Linked DNA regions of Homo sapiens: region 1 is linked to region 2. The links are contacts of gene promoters, found by promoter capture Hi-C in human tissues and cell types (Jung and others, 2019). All regions are on one chromosome and are shown on one strand. Each heading gives the region's core, a stretch centred on a gene start or on the middle of the fragment in contact. The rest is flanking DNA. Distances are from core to core; before and after follow the strand shown.

Region 1 (6,905 bases), core at 4,265-6,764, 72 kb after region 2:
TCACTAGAACTAGACGTATGTGTGCTTGCATGAGATTGGGCTATGCTTCCAGCCCCACCAATCTAAGAAGGGAGATTATGTAGGAAAGTCAGACAGGCGTATGACTCAAAATGTGTGGTGGTGGGGAGGAGATTCTACAAACTGTTGACCACTGGCTATATAAATCCAGAGCAAAATTTTAGAAAAGTGTATTCTCCACTTTAGTGGTTTGTAAGCAGTTGGAAGTGAAGCAGTGACCTCTAAAAGCCAGCACAGATTCACTTAAAATAATTGATATGAAATCTTGAGAGCAAAGTCAAAAAACGCACTGTGTTTGGATTACAGCAAGACATTTGACAAAGCCTCACAGCATCCTTGAGAAATACGGGCTACGTAACAGAGAGTGGCTAACTAGTTTTGTTCTTTTGTTTGTTTTTTTGTTTTTGTTTTTGTTTTTTTAGATGGAGTCTGGTTTACACCTGTTTTATTGGCATCTCTTCTGGTTTACTGGGTATCTTGAATTTTTTTTTTTTTTTTTGGGGGGGTGGAGTTTCACTCTGGCACCCAGGCTGGAGTGCAGTGGCGCCATCTCGGCTCACTGCAACCTCCGCCTCCTGGGTTCAAGAGATTCTCCCGCCTCAGCCTCCTGAGTAGCTAGGATTACAGGCGCCTGTCACCATGCCCGTCTAATTTTTGTATTTTTAGTAGAGATGAGGTTTCACCATGTAGGCCAGGCTGGTCTCAAACTCCTGACTTTAGGTGATCCGCCCATCTTGGCATCCCAAGGTGCTGGGATTACAGGCGTGAGCCGCTGCACCTGGCCCAATGTGGCTAACTAGTTAAATGACTGGTTTAGACAATTGATCATAAGTAAATGCTAATGGATGGATTAATTTTGACCAGGTCTTAGTAGCCACCACAAGGCTCTTTCCTAGACATGTCTTGTTTAGCAGTTGATTGGTGTGTGATACTGATAGAACGCTGATGAGGTATTCAGCTGATAGGCACTGGGAGGGACAAGGAATACTTTGATAGGTTCAAAAATATATGGATAGGCCAAAGTACAAGTCTGTATCTAATTGGATAAAATTTAATAGATGTAATAGTACACTTTTTTACTTTTAATTTTAAAAATCAACTTAAAAAGTAGCATGAGGAGAATATAACTCAACTGCCATCTGTGTGGAGAAAGACTTTGATGTTTTAGTTTATTAAAAGCTTAATGTGGATACACACAAAAACACACACACATGGAGCAATAAGTTAAATCATGCCACCAGAGAAAATCACCTTCACTAAAAGGAAGACAGGAAGGAAGGAAAGAAGGAAGAGAAGACCATAAAGTAACTAGAAAACAACAAAATGGCAGGAGTAAGTCCTTACTTAGCAGTAATAACATTGAATATAAATGGACTAAACTCCCCAATAAAAAGACATACTATCTTTTTATTGGGCTGAATAACATTTTTAAAAAAGACTGACTGATCTGTTGCATACAGGTAATGCTTTACCTTTAAAGATATACATAGGCTGAAAATGAAGGGATGGAAAAAGATATTTCATGCTAATGGAAACCAAAAAAGAACAGAAGTCACTATACTTATGTCAGACAAAATAGAGTTCATGACAAAACTGTAAGAAGAGACAAAGAAGGTCATTATATAATGATAAAGGGGTCAATTCAGCAAGAGGATATAACAATTTTAAATACATGTGCCCCCAGTACTGGAGCACCCAGATATACAAAGCAAATATTATTAGAACTAAAGAGAAAGAGAGAGAGAGAGACCTCAATGCAATAATAGCTGGGGACTTCAACACCCCACTTTCAGCATTGGACCCATCTTCCAGAGAGAAAATCAACAAAGAAACATTGGACTTAATCTGCTCTATAGGCCAAATGGACCTAAGAGATATTTACAGAACATTTTATCCAAGAACTGCAGAATACACATTCTTCGCAGCATATGGATCATTCTCAGATATAGATGCTTTGTCACAAAACAAGTCTTAATATACTTTTAAAAATTGTGATAATATCAGGCATCTTCTCTGACCACAATGGAATAAAACTAAAAATCAATAGCAAGAGGAATTTTAGAAACTATACAAATACACGGAAATTAAACAATATGCTCCTGAATGACCAGTGGGTCAATAAAGAAATCAGAAAGAAAATTGAAAAATTTTCTTGAAACAAATGATGATGGAAACAGAACATACAAAACCTGTGGGATACAGTGAAAGCATTACCAAGAAGGAAGTTTATAGTGTCTACATCAAAAGAAGAAGAAAAACTTCAAATAAATAATGAGGCATCTTAAGGGACTAGAAAAACAAGAGCAAGCCAAACCCAAAATTAGTAGAAGAAAAGAAATAATAAAGATCAGAGCACAAATAAATGAAACTGAAATGAAGAAAATAACATAAAAGATCAATGAAACAAAAAGTTGGTGTTTTGAAAAGATTAGGAAAATTGACAAACCATTACCCAGACTAAGAAAAAAAAAAAAAAAGAAGACCCAAATAAATAAAATCAGAAATGGAAAGGGAGACACTACAACTTATACTACAAAAATTCAAAGGATCATTAGTAGCTACTATGAGCAACTATGTGCAAATAAATTGGGAACCTAGAGGAAATGAATAAATTCCTAGACACATAAACCTATCAAGATTGTACCATGAAGAAATCCAAAGTGTGACCAGACCAATAACAAGTAACGAGATTGAAGACATAATAAAAAGTCTCCCAGTAAAGAAAAGCTCAAGACCTGATGGCTTCACTGCTGAATTCCACCAAACATTTAAAGAAGAACTAATACCAATTCTACTCAAACTGCTCCAAAATAATAGAAGAGAAGGGAATACAAACTCATTCTACAAGTCCAGTATTACCCTGAGACCAAAACTAGACGAAGACACATCAAAAAAAGAAAATTACAGACCAGTGTCTCTGATGAGTATTGATGCAAAAATCCTCAACAAAATACTAGCAAACTGCATTCAACAAGACATTTAAAAGATCATTCTTCATGACCAAGTAGAATTTATCCCTGGAATGCAAGGATGGTTCAACATACACAAATCAGGCCAGGAGTGGTGGCTCACGCCTGTAATCCCAGCACTTTGGGAGCCTGGACAACAAGGTGGAACCCTGTCTCTACCAAAAAACAAAAAATTAGCCAGGCATGGTGGTGTGCACCCATGGTCTCAGCTATTAAGGAGGCTGAGGTGAAAGAATCGCTTGAGCCTAGGAGGTAGAAGTTCCAATGAGCCAAGATTGTGGTACTGCATTCCAACCTGGGTGACTGAGCAAGAATCTCACTCAAACAAAAACAAAAAACAAAAAAAAACCCACCAGAAATCAATCAATGTGACACACCATATCAACAGAGTGAAGGACATAAACCATATGATCATTTCAATTGATGCTAAAAAAAAAATTGATAAAATTCAATGTCCCTCCATAATAAAAACCCTAAAAAAACTGAGTATACTTTGGGAGGCCGAGGTGGGTGGATTACGAGGTCAGGAGATTGAGACCATCCTGGCTAACACAGTGAAACCCCATCTCTACTAAAAAATACAAAAAAATTAGCCAGGTGTGGTGGTAGGCACCTGTAGTCCCAGCTACTCGGGAGGCTGAGGCAGGAGAATGGTGTGAACCTGGGAGGCAGAGCTTGCAGTGAGCTGAGATCACACCACTGTACTCCAGCCTGGGCAACAGAGCGAGACTCCATCTCAAAAAAAAAAACTGGGTATAAAAGGAACATACCTCAACATAATAGAAACCATATGTGACAGACCCACAGATAGTTTCATACTGAATGGGAAAAAATTAACTCTTTCCTCTAAGATCTGGAACAAGACAAGGATGCCCACTTTCACCACTGTTATTCAACATAATACTGGAAGTTCTAGCTAGAGCAATCAGACAAGAGAAATAAATAAAGAGCATCCAAATTAGAATAGAAGAAATCAAATTATCCTAGTTTGCAGATGACATAATCTTACATTTGGAAACACCTAAAGATGCCATCAAACAACTATTAGAACTGATTAAAAAAATTCCGTAAAGTTGCAGGAAACAAAGTCGACATATAAAAATCAGTAGCATTTCTATATGCCAACAATGAACAACCTGAAAAAGAAATTTAAAAAGTAATCCCCTGATGGTGCTTTTCATGTTCTAGTAATGCACACATTTTGGCCCAGCCTCCTGATACCACAAGTTTCTTTTATGTACTTAGGCTCACTTATGGATGCATCACTTTAAAAGCCAGGAATTTAGGAAAGGTTCATAACATTTTTATAGAACCTTAAGCTTTTTGAAGGGTAAACACTTGTAAAACTTCTCTAAAGAACTGGTTGGGTGCGATGGCTCAAACATGTAATCCTAGCACTTTGGGAGGTCATGGTGGGTGGGTCACTTGAAGTCAGTAGTTTGAGATCAGCCTGACCAACATGGTGAAACCCTGTGTCTACTAAAAATACAAAAAAATTAGCTGGGTGTGGTGGTGCACGCCTGAAGTCCCAGCTACTCGGGAGGCTGAGGCAGGAGAATCACTTGAACCCGGGAGGCAGAGGTTGCAGTGAGCCAAGGTCGCACCACTGCACTCCAGCCTGGGCAACAGAGCGAGATTTCATCTAAAAACAAACAAACAAACAAACAAATTAAAAACTTAAGGAGGATAAAAATGAAGACAGTTTAGTTAATGGGTACAAAAATACACTTGGAATAAGTTTTAGTGGTTCAACAGCACAGTAGGGTGACTGTAGTTGTCAATAATGTATTGCATATTTCAAAATAGCTGGAAGATTTGAAATGTTCTCAACACAAAGAAATAATCAATGTTTGAGATGATGACCAATTACCCTGGTTTGATTATTACACATTGTATCATGTAGCAAAATATCACATGTACTCCCATGCATATGTACAATTATAATGTATCAATAAGAATTTAGTAAAAGACAAAAAGAAACAATTATTTAAGACTTTTAAGCAAATAGGAAAATAAGCTGACAATCACTACAAATATCAAGAAGGAATCCATTGGCTAGATAACCTAGAAAAAACAATACATTGTTTTCAAGCCAATAAATGTTTATAAAAAATTCAAATAATACAAGGAGGCCAGGCGCGGTGGCTCACACCTGTAATCCCAGCACTTTGGGAGGCCGAGGTTGGAGGATCACTTGAGGTCAGGAGTTTAAGATCAGCCTGGCCAACATGGCAAAACCCTGTCTCTACTAAAAATACAAAAATAAGTCAGGTGTGGTGGTGCACGTCTGTAGTCCCAGCTACTCAGGAGGCTGAGGCAGGAGAATCGCTTGAACCCAGGAGGTGGAGGTTGCAGTGAGCCAAGATCGTGCCATTGCACTCCAGCCTGGGCGACAGAGTGAGACTCTGTCTCAAAAACAAATAATAATAATAAATAAAAATAAATAAAGACAAGGAAAAGTAAGCAGAAGTTAAATCATATCACAACTCTGGTCTTGGTAGAAGGGTTTGGGGCATCTAGCATTTATCATTTAAAGACCTGAATTTAATTCTTATTTAATTCCATTTATGACAGGGATCATATTCATTCACTCACCTGAGCTGAAATTTGGCTTTCTGCAGTGACTGTAGGAGAGTCTAACAATGGACAGCACTGGGAATTTATTGCTTCTATAGTAAATGTTAAACTGAACAGTTTTAGCACTAACATTTTTAATATTATTAAAATAGTATTAAAATTTGGGGATAATATTTTAGGTTTATGTGCATATCCCAGAAGTTTATTCTTTAATAGTGATGTTTGTCATCAACTTTGGCTTCAGCTGAAGAGTGACTTATTTTTTGGCCCTTTTGGCATTTGGCTGAAATGTGTATTCAGTGCACTTCTAATGGAGGCATAATGGGGTATGAAAATATGGGAAAGGCAAAATTAATTCCAGCTGATGGCATTAGTGAAGGTTGAGTGGGGAACAGACATTTGAGATGGACAATGAAACATGAGGAGGCTTCTAACAGGCAGAGATGGGTTATAGAAAAAGGGGCACTTGAGGCCAAAAAGTGTGCTTGAATCTTTCCTGTAAAACTGTATGCACACAGGCGTGGTGGCTCATGCCTGTAATCCCAGCACTTTGGGAGGTCAAGGAAGGCAGATCACCTGAGGTCACGAGTTTGAGACCAGCCTGGCCAACATGGTGAAACCCCGTCTCTACTAAAAATACAAAAATTAGCCAGGCATGGTTGTGCACACCTGGAATCCCAGCTACTTGGGAGGCTGAGGCAGGAGAATGGTGTGAACCCGGGAGGTGGAGCTTGCAGTGAGCCAAGATCACGCCACTGCACTCCAGCCTGGGTGACAGAGAGAGACTCCATCTCAAAAAAAAAAAAAAAAAAAAAACCGGTATGTACCCAGCCATGATGTTTGTCTTCTGTGATTGCTACCTCCCACTGCTTCCATAGGATTCCTACCTCCAAGCTTCCATAATGAAATCCTTCCCTTTTCATTTCAAATTTTTGTCTTTAGTTTTTCTCAGCTCTCCTATAAATACACGTTTTTACATACACACAAAATATGCTTACATATACCAAAGTAACTATTTCCTAAAGGAACTCTTTGATAACAAGAAAAGTGCTGCTGTTATTAATTAGCATACGATGATTCAGTGTGACATGCTTTCTGAGTTATTCTGGCTGGAAGTTTAGAGATAACACTAATTAGAGCTTGTAATATTAACACATAAAGTAGAGTTGAAGTGTCATTTTATCAATCACTTTCACTCTAACCAAACCCTGAACACTAATGGGAACCATACTCTGTCCCTTGTTCAAATATTTTACCTGAAGGCCTCAGATTTGTTCTCTGTAGTGTGTTAGCCTGTTGAACTTCAACAGTTTTCCATTACTTGAAGTGGGTTAAATGCAG
Region 2 (6,647 bases), core at 4,032-6,531:
AAAAATATTATAATTAGGGAAAGAAGCCAGTCATAAAAGACAACATGTTGTATGATTCCATTTACGTGAAATATCCAGAATAAGCAAATCTAGAGAAGACAAAAAATAAATTTGTGATTGCCAGAGTCTGGGTGTGTAGGGGGAATGAGGAATGAGTGCTAACATGTCTGTGGTTTCTTCTGAAGTTTTGAAAACGTTCTAAAGTTATAATAGATTGGGAGATAGTTACACAACTCTGTGAATATACTAAAAACCATTGAACTGTGCATTTTAAAAAGGTGAATTTATGATATGTGAAATATGTCTTAACAAAACTGTATTTAGAGAGAGAGAAAGAGAGAGAATGGTTTAATAAAGCTCCAACACTCAGCTTCAACCATTATCAACTCATGGCCAATCATTTCATCTATACCCCACCCCACCACTCTACCCCGTCTCCCACACTCGATAATTTTTAAAGTAAATTCCTGATATTATTTCTTCTGTAAATAATCAGTTTATCGCTCCAAAAAGTAAGGACTCTTCAAAAAAATAATCATGATACTGTTGTCACATCAAAAAATTTTTTAAAATAACACCTTAGTCCAGGCATGGTGGCTCATGCCCGTAATCCCAACACTTCGAGAAGCCAAGGCAGGCAGATCACTTGAGGTCAGGTGTTCGTGACCAGCCTAGCCAACATGGTGAAACCCTGTCTCTACTAAAAAAAAAAAAAAAAAAAAAAAAATACGAAAATTAGCCGGGCTTGGTGGCACACGCCTGTAGTCCCAGCTACTTGGGAGGCTTAGACATGAGAATTGCTTGAACCCGGGAGGCAGAGGTTGCAGTGAGCCGAGATCACGCCATTGCACTCCAGCCTGGGTAACAGAGTAAGACTCTGTCTCAAAACCAACAACAACAACAACAACAACAAAAACTGTAATGCCAGCACTTTGGGAGGCTGAGGCAGGCGGATCACTTGAGGTCAGGAGTTTGAGACTAGCCTGACCAACATGGAGAAACCCCATCTCTACTAAAAATACAAAATTAGCCAGGCGTGGTGGCGCATGCCTGTAATCCCAGCTACCTGGGAGGCTAAGGCAGGAGAATCGCTTGAACCCAGGGGGTGGAGGCTGTGGTGAGCCGAGATCACGCCATTGCACTCCAGCCTGGGCAACAAGAGCAAATCTCTGTCTCAAAATAATAATAATAATTTTAGAAAACAGACCTTAATATAATCAAATATTCTGTGTTCACATTTTCCCTAATTGTCTCATTAATGTGAATTTTTAACAGCTGCTTTCTCAAATTAAGATCACACATTACATTTTGTTATTTGTCTCTTGAATTTCTGTGTATCTATAAGCTTTCTCTCCTTTTATTTTTCTTGCAATTTATTTATTGAAGAATCAGTTGTTTGTCATGTAGAGCTTCCTATATTTTGGATTTTGCTGATTGCATCACTGTGGTATCATTTAACATGATCATGATTACATAGTAATTAGCTTTTAGATGTTTGCTGTCAATTATACTACACATACGATTTAATTCATAATTCATCAACATAGTCACTGCTCCTTTAGTCTTTATCATCCACCATATCCTTTGAAGCATCTTTGACACAAATTATCTCAGTTAGTCTTTCTAATAACCCCATGTGGTAAGTATTATTATCCTCAGTTTAAGAGATGAAGAAGGCCGGGCCCGGTGGCTCACGCCTGTGATCCCAGCACTTTGGGAGGCCGAGGCAGGTGGATCACAAGGTCAGGAGATCGACACCATCCTGGTCAACATGGTGAAACCCCGTCTCTACTAAAATACAAAGAATTAGGCGGGTGTAGTGGCAGCACCTGTAGTCCCAGCTACTCAGGAGGCTGAGGCAGGGGAATCGCTTGAACCCAGAGGTTGCAGTGAGCCAAGATCGCACCACTGCACTCCAGCCTGGTGACAGAACAAGACTCCGTCTCAAAAAAAAAAAAAAAAAAAAAAAAAAAGATGAAGAAAATGAGGCTTAAGGGAGGTTACAGAAACTTGGCCATAGTCATTGTGCCAGTAAATATCTGGGTTCAAACTCTCTGATGTTAAAACCCATGTTGTTATCTGTTATATGATAATATCCCATCACATTGCCTGTGGTTTGTGGTGGTTGTTTTTAATCAACTCTAGGAAGCAGTCTTTCAGTCCATCCAAAGAATGTACTTTCACATTTCATCTTTAACACTTAGGATGCTTTCAGCTTCAAGTAACAGAAAACTCCATCTCAAATTGACTCAACAATAAGGTTATTTATTATCTCATATAACAAGAAATCCAGAAGAAGGGCAGCACTGGGGCTGGTTGATGACTGACTCAACAACAATATGGCCGACCCAGATTCATCGTATCTCTTTACAATGGCCAGAACTGGGTCACATGTCCACTCCTAAACTCTTACAGGCCAGTTAAGAGGATTCTATTCCTCTTGTCTATGATAGATTTGAGAGTGTACCTCTCAGAGGCTAATAGGGTCACCTTTCCTAATGTGTAAACACCCATATAGGCTTCTATAAAGAAGAAGAGGGTGGACTGAATGTTTAATAGACAACCAACAGTGTCTACTACCTGTTCCTAATGAGGTGTGCTACATATTCCACTGTGAATAATTAAAATACTTCATTATAACTGCCACGTTGAACTTTTTTCCTTTCTGCCATTTGACAATTACAGTCAATATATCAGCTTCCTCATTTACAGGAAGAAATGGCTACACAAAATGATATGTAAGGTCCCTTCCAGCTCCAGGAGTTCTGTTTCAATTTTACATTTTCATCTTCTAAAAAGCAAGTAGAAAAGTTAAACTTACAAGATATGGTCCAGAAATGATCATGGGTTTCAACTGATAAGTCATAGGCATATTGACATCCTTTCTTCCTTAAGATAAGACATAGGCAATAGATTTAAAGAGCTAAACAGACTGGAACTGGTAATATCTTTCCATTAAGTTTTAACATTAGGTTAAATGTTCTACTTCCCTCACTCATCCTTTAACACCTTCCAGCTTCCAACACTCATCATACAGACAGAGACTGATCAGAAGTTTCTTTTCACAACTCACTTTATTTTGGTGTCAGCATCCTCCTGGAGCATGGCTCTGGGGCTGTAGGATAGCTCTTGTATCTCTGCTTCGACTGCCGAACATGACTTTAACTTAAATCATTCCCCTGTCTGCTTCCTTTCATGGCTAGTTTCTGAAGGAATACTCTATTCGTTTTATCACATGCAGCCATTTTCCTCGTGCAGAACCACGGGAAACCAAAGAGAAATACTGTACACTACTGAGCACCTTTGCTACTCTTTCTTCCAATATGAATGAAATTGCTTTATTATTTTCAGCATATGCCTACTATCAGCTTTCTCTGGGAAAACTGCTGGCTCGATCCGTAAGCAGCCCTGTTCTTATTTAACAGAAGGCTATGACTGTAACAAATGTACAACATAAAAAAGTCAAAGGCATCCTGTCGGTTACACAGGACATTCGGAATAACAAATGTACAGGAAAACTTGGGAACATGACTTAAAGTAATTTGGTCACACCCCCATTTCATTTAACTCTTTCTGGCTCAGATTTGTCATTCTGACAGGAGGCCCAAGATATAGTCCATTACCACAATTGATCATAGAAACAACACTGGTCTCTCAGTCAGCAGCCACTGCGTGCCAGTGTTCATCATGCTAGTTCCCAGAGTTTTAGAGGATTAACTTTACTTTCTGGTTCAACCCATCTGCTGGGGAAGGTATGGCCCTATTTTGCAATGTGCAAAAGGGAGACAGTGCTGGGGGTGCCCACAGTGGAAGGAGAGAAGACAGGCTTACTGAACACCCCTATGACCTTGAATAAGTCACATCACCTCTCTGTGCCTCTTATTAACTATCATTGGGGAAAAATACCTTCACTCTGCCTGTCTCACAAGGGTTCTTGTAAAAATCAAATGAGAACACAAATAGGAAAGTATTTTCATAAATGCAAACCAGTGTTATCATTTTCAGATGTGGAATTTCCTCTGCAGCACGTTTTTTTGGCCACACGATTACTGCACACCTCGTGCCAGACAGACTATAAAGCTGTTTCACCTCTTTTCACATTTTGCCTAAAATTTCATATAGAGATTACACCAGCCATGCTGCATCCATCCCTTTGGTTCATTTTCCTCCACTACATCTGTGAATGCAAATCCCACCATCATGTGAAACACTGCATAGCAGCAACTTGCAAAACTCAACGAACCTTAGACTGCCAAGATAAGTCCCATAAGCAAAGGTTATGCTCAAAATATGCTGCAAAAGTTCAAGAAGGAGAGAGATATCACATCTAATTAGAAAAGGCCTCTGGAAGTTAAATCTAGATGCCATGTATTTTCATAATGTTGGTCTTTGTCCTATGTCACCCCACTCTGCTGTCATGCTTCAGAAACTTGACTTTATTTTCTCTATCTTTGGAGCTCTCAAGAACCTGGCAGACAGAACATCTCAGGGTATATTCAGGGATGAAGTGAACGGGCTCAACGACTAACAAACCCAGTGGATTTTAACATTTACCCAGCCCAACGAGGTCCAACTATCTTTAGGTTAGCACGACATATAGGACTTTCCCGGCCCAAGAACTCCCTCGGAAACCCCAAGGAAGGAACTTTCACTGAGTATGCACTAAGTGCCAGATCCTAAGTGCTATGGGTCGCTTAATCCTCACAACACTTTTTCAAGCTTGAAGCCTGTTTTACAGATGAGGACGCGAAGGCTCAGACAGGCTAAGTTGTCCGGTCTCACCTCAGTGAAGCCGCCACTGCGCTTGGGCTCTCCAGCCCCTCACGCCATCACCCTAGAGCCTTGCTAACTTCCACCTCGCTTACCTCCTTCCCTCCCTAGGCTGCCAACCCAACTACTCTCTCCTCCCACGCCCACGCCCAGCCAGGAAAACCTGGGGCGGGCGGGGTCTGTACCTGAGACCGCTCTCAACGCGGCTTCCGTGTCAGGATGCTCGCTCACAGGAATGCTCATCACAGGCTTGAAAGCCTTTGCCATCCACGCTCTCCGGAGCCCCGAGCGTCTCCAAAGAGCCTGCCCAGGCTTCTCCCCGACCCAGGTGCTTCCTCCCCTGCAGAGCTGTGGCGGGGTTCAGACCCCGATTCCGGGAGAGGACACCTGTCGGGGAAGGGCGGGGCTGGGGGACTGCGGGGCCGCGGCGAGGCTCAGCCGGGAACTACGCTTCCCAGCCTGCTCCGCTGCAGCCGCGCGCCCCGGCGCCGCGCCCGGCCGGGAGCCGCCTGTTGATCGCCGCGCTCGCCCCGGCCACGGCGCCGCCCCTGTTCTCCCGGCCCCGCTCCACCGGGGCTGACGGACTGACGGCCAGCACAGCCGGCTCCGGGATGAGCGCACGGACGGGTGAGCGCCCCGGGGGGCGGGTGGGGCCTGTTCTGGACAGCCGGTGTCTGCAGCCCCCGGGCCCGCAGCGCGGTGGCCGCCGTGCCCTCCCTGCCCGCGGGAGGATGCTCCGCGACATGGGCGGTCGGCCGGGCGGGCGTGCAGAGCCGGGCCGCCTCTCGCCTCTCGCCTCCCGGCCCGGTCGGCTGCGCCGGGAGACCAGGCGCTGCGCCCGGGCGGGAGGCGCCCGCCGGGGTGTGAGTCCCGCGCCCCGCACTGCGGTGCCGCAGCCTCTGCAGCCCGCTGGGCCGCAGCGGGGAGGGCGCGGTCTCCTGTCCTCCCGGGCTGCGGGGCTGTGTTCTTCCACTCCGGGCTTTGTTCCCCCACTTTTCCCCTTCCTGTGCATGTTTGGTGAGCTCCTGGAGCGGTATGCATCTCCCTGCCTCGTTCAGCAGGCGATGGGGAGGGGTGGACTGGCCGGCGTCTTTCCTGAGATCGCTGGAGCTGTCACTCGCAGGGCGTTTCAGCCTCCCAGTAAGCGGCCTCGTGCGGATCCTCGAGAACCTTATTATTATTGTTATTACTTTTCTGGTTAAAGTAATTGTAGTATGTGCTCCCTTGAGGCTTCCTAAATGTTCCCTGTTGACCTGCGGAAATGAAGGTGGATTTTTAAAACAGTAATAAAAGGCTTCTAATGGGAATTTTTAGAGTATTCAGAGGTAGGAAGGTGATGCCGTCACAATGCAAATTAGCAGTGAAGGAGGCCGTGCTTACTGCAGCTTCGTCTGTGCCCATTACATATCTGAATCACGAGGCATTTAGGACGGGAATGAAAAGAAGATCGGGGGAGGTGTTTTAAAAACCAGGTTCTCCTCTTAGCTTGACCATTCAGGAGCTGAGGGACCTGGGCAAGTCCCTCCACCTCTCTGGGCCTCTGCATGTAAAGGGGCGTTTGGGCTAAATGATTTGTAAACCTCTGTTCTTCCAAGATTCTCCCCTCTCAGGGAACTGAAAAGATGAGAGTGTTTCTGTTTAACAGCACTACAAAAAGCCTAATTGTGACAACAAGCGCCTCTACCCTAGTGAGGAGGAAAGATTTTTCAGAGCTTCAGCAATCTGATTTTTTTTTAAAGATAAAACTGATTTTCTCGATCGACTCTCTTCAGTCTAACCCAATAAATACGCATTGCAATCATTTTAATTTTTGTAAGGTACTGTACATTGGTGGGCAACAAAATGATGGGGTTTGTTTTTGTCTTTAATTTGCTGAA

The links. The method cuts DNA at HindIII sites, captures the fragments that hold promoters and counts their contacts. A contact is called where the count stands out against the background at its distance.
Region 1: a fragment that was not itself captured here is called in contact with the fragment with the promoter of TMOD2 in region 2 in 4 of the 25 tissues and cell types used here (aorta, dorsolateral prefrontal cortex, lymphoblastoid cells and 1 more).

Annotation. Positions count from the first base shown.
Region 1 is chr15:51,818,555-51,825,459 of GRCh38, forward strand. No RefSeq gene overlaps it. Among named protein-coding and RNA genes, the nearest start is that of TMOD3, 7.6 kb to the right of the region's middle. RefSeq lists a silencer at 2,704-2,904. The HindIII fragment of the contact is 5,527 bases long and covers 2,752-6,905 here.
Region 2 is chr15:51,746,316-51,752,962 of GRCh38, forward strand. It overlaps TMOD2 (tropomodulin 2), which reads left to right and starts at 5,282. Exons shown (of 10, transcript NM_014548.4): 1 at 5,282-5,397. It also overlaps a transcript of LYSMD2 not described here. RefSeq lists an enhancer at 4,836-4,905 and silencers at 5,016-5,445, 5,496-5,605, 5,636-5,695. The HindIII fragment of the contact is 8,938 bases long and covers 3,033-6,647 here.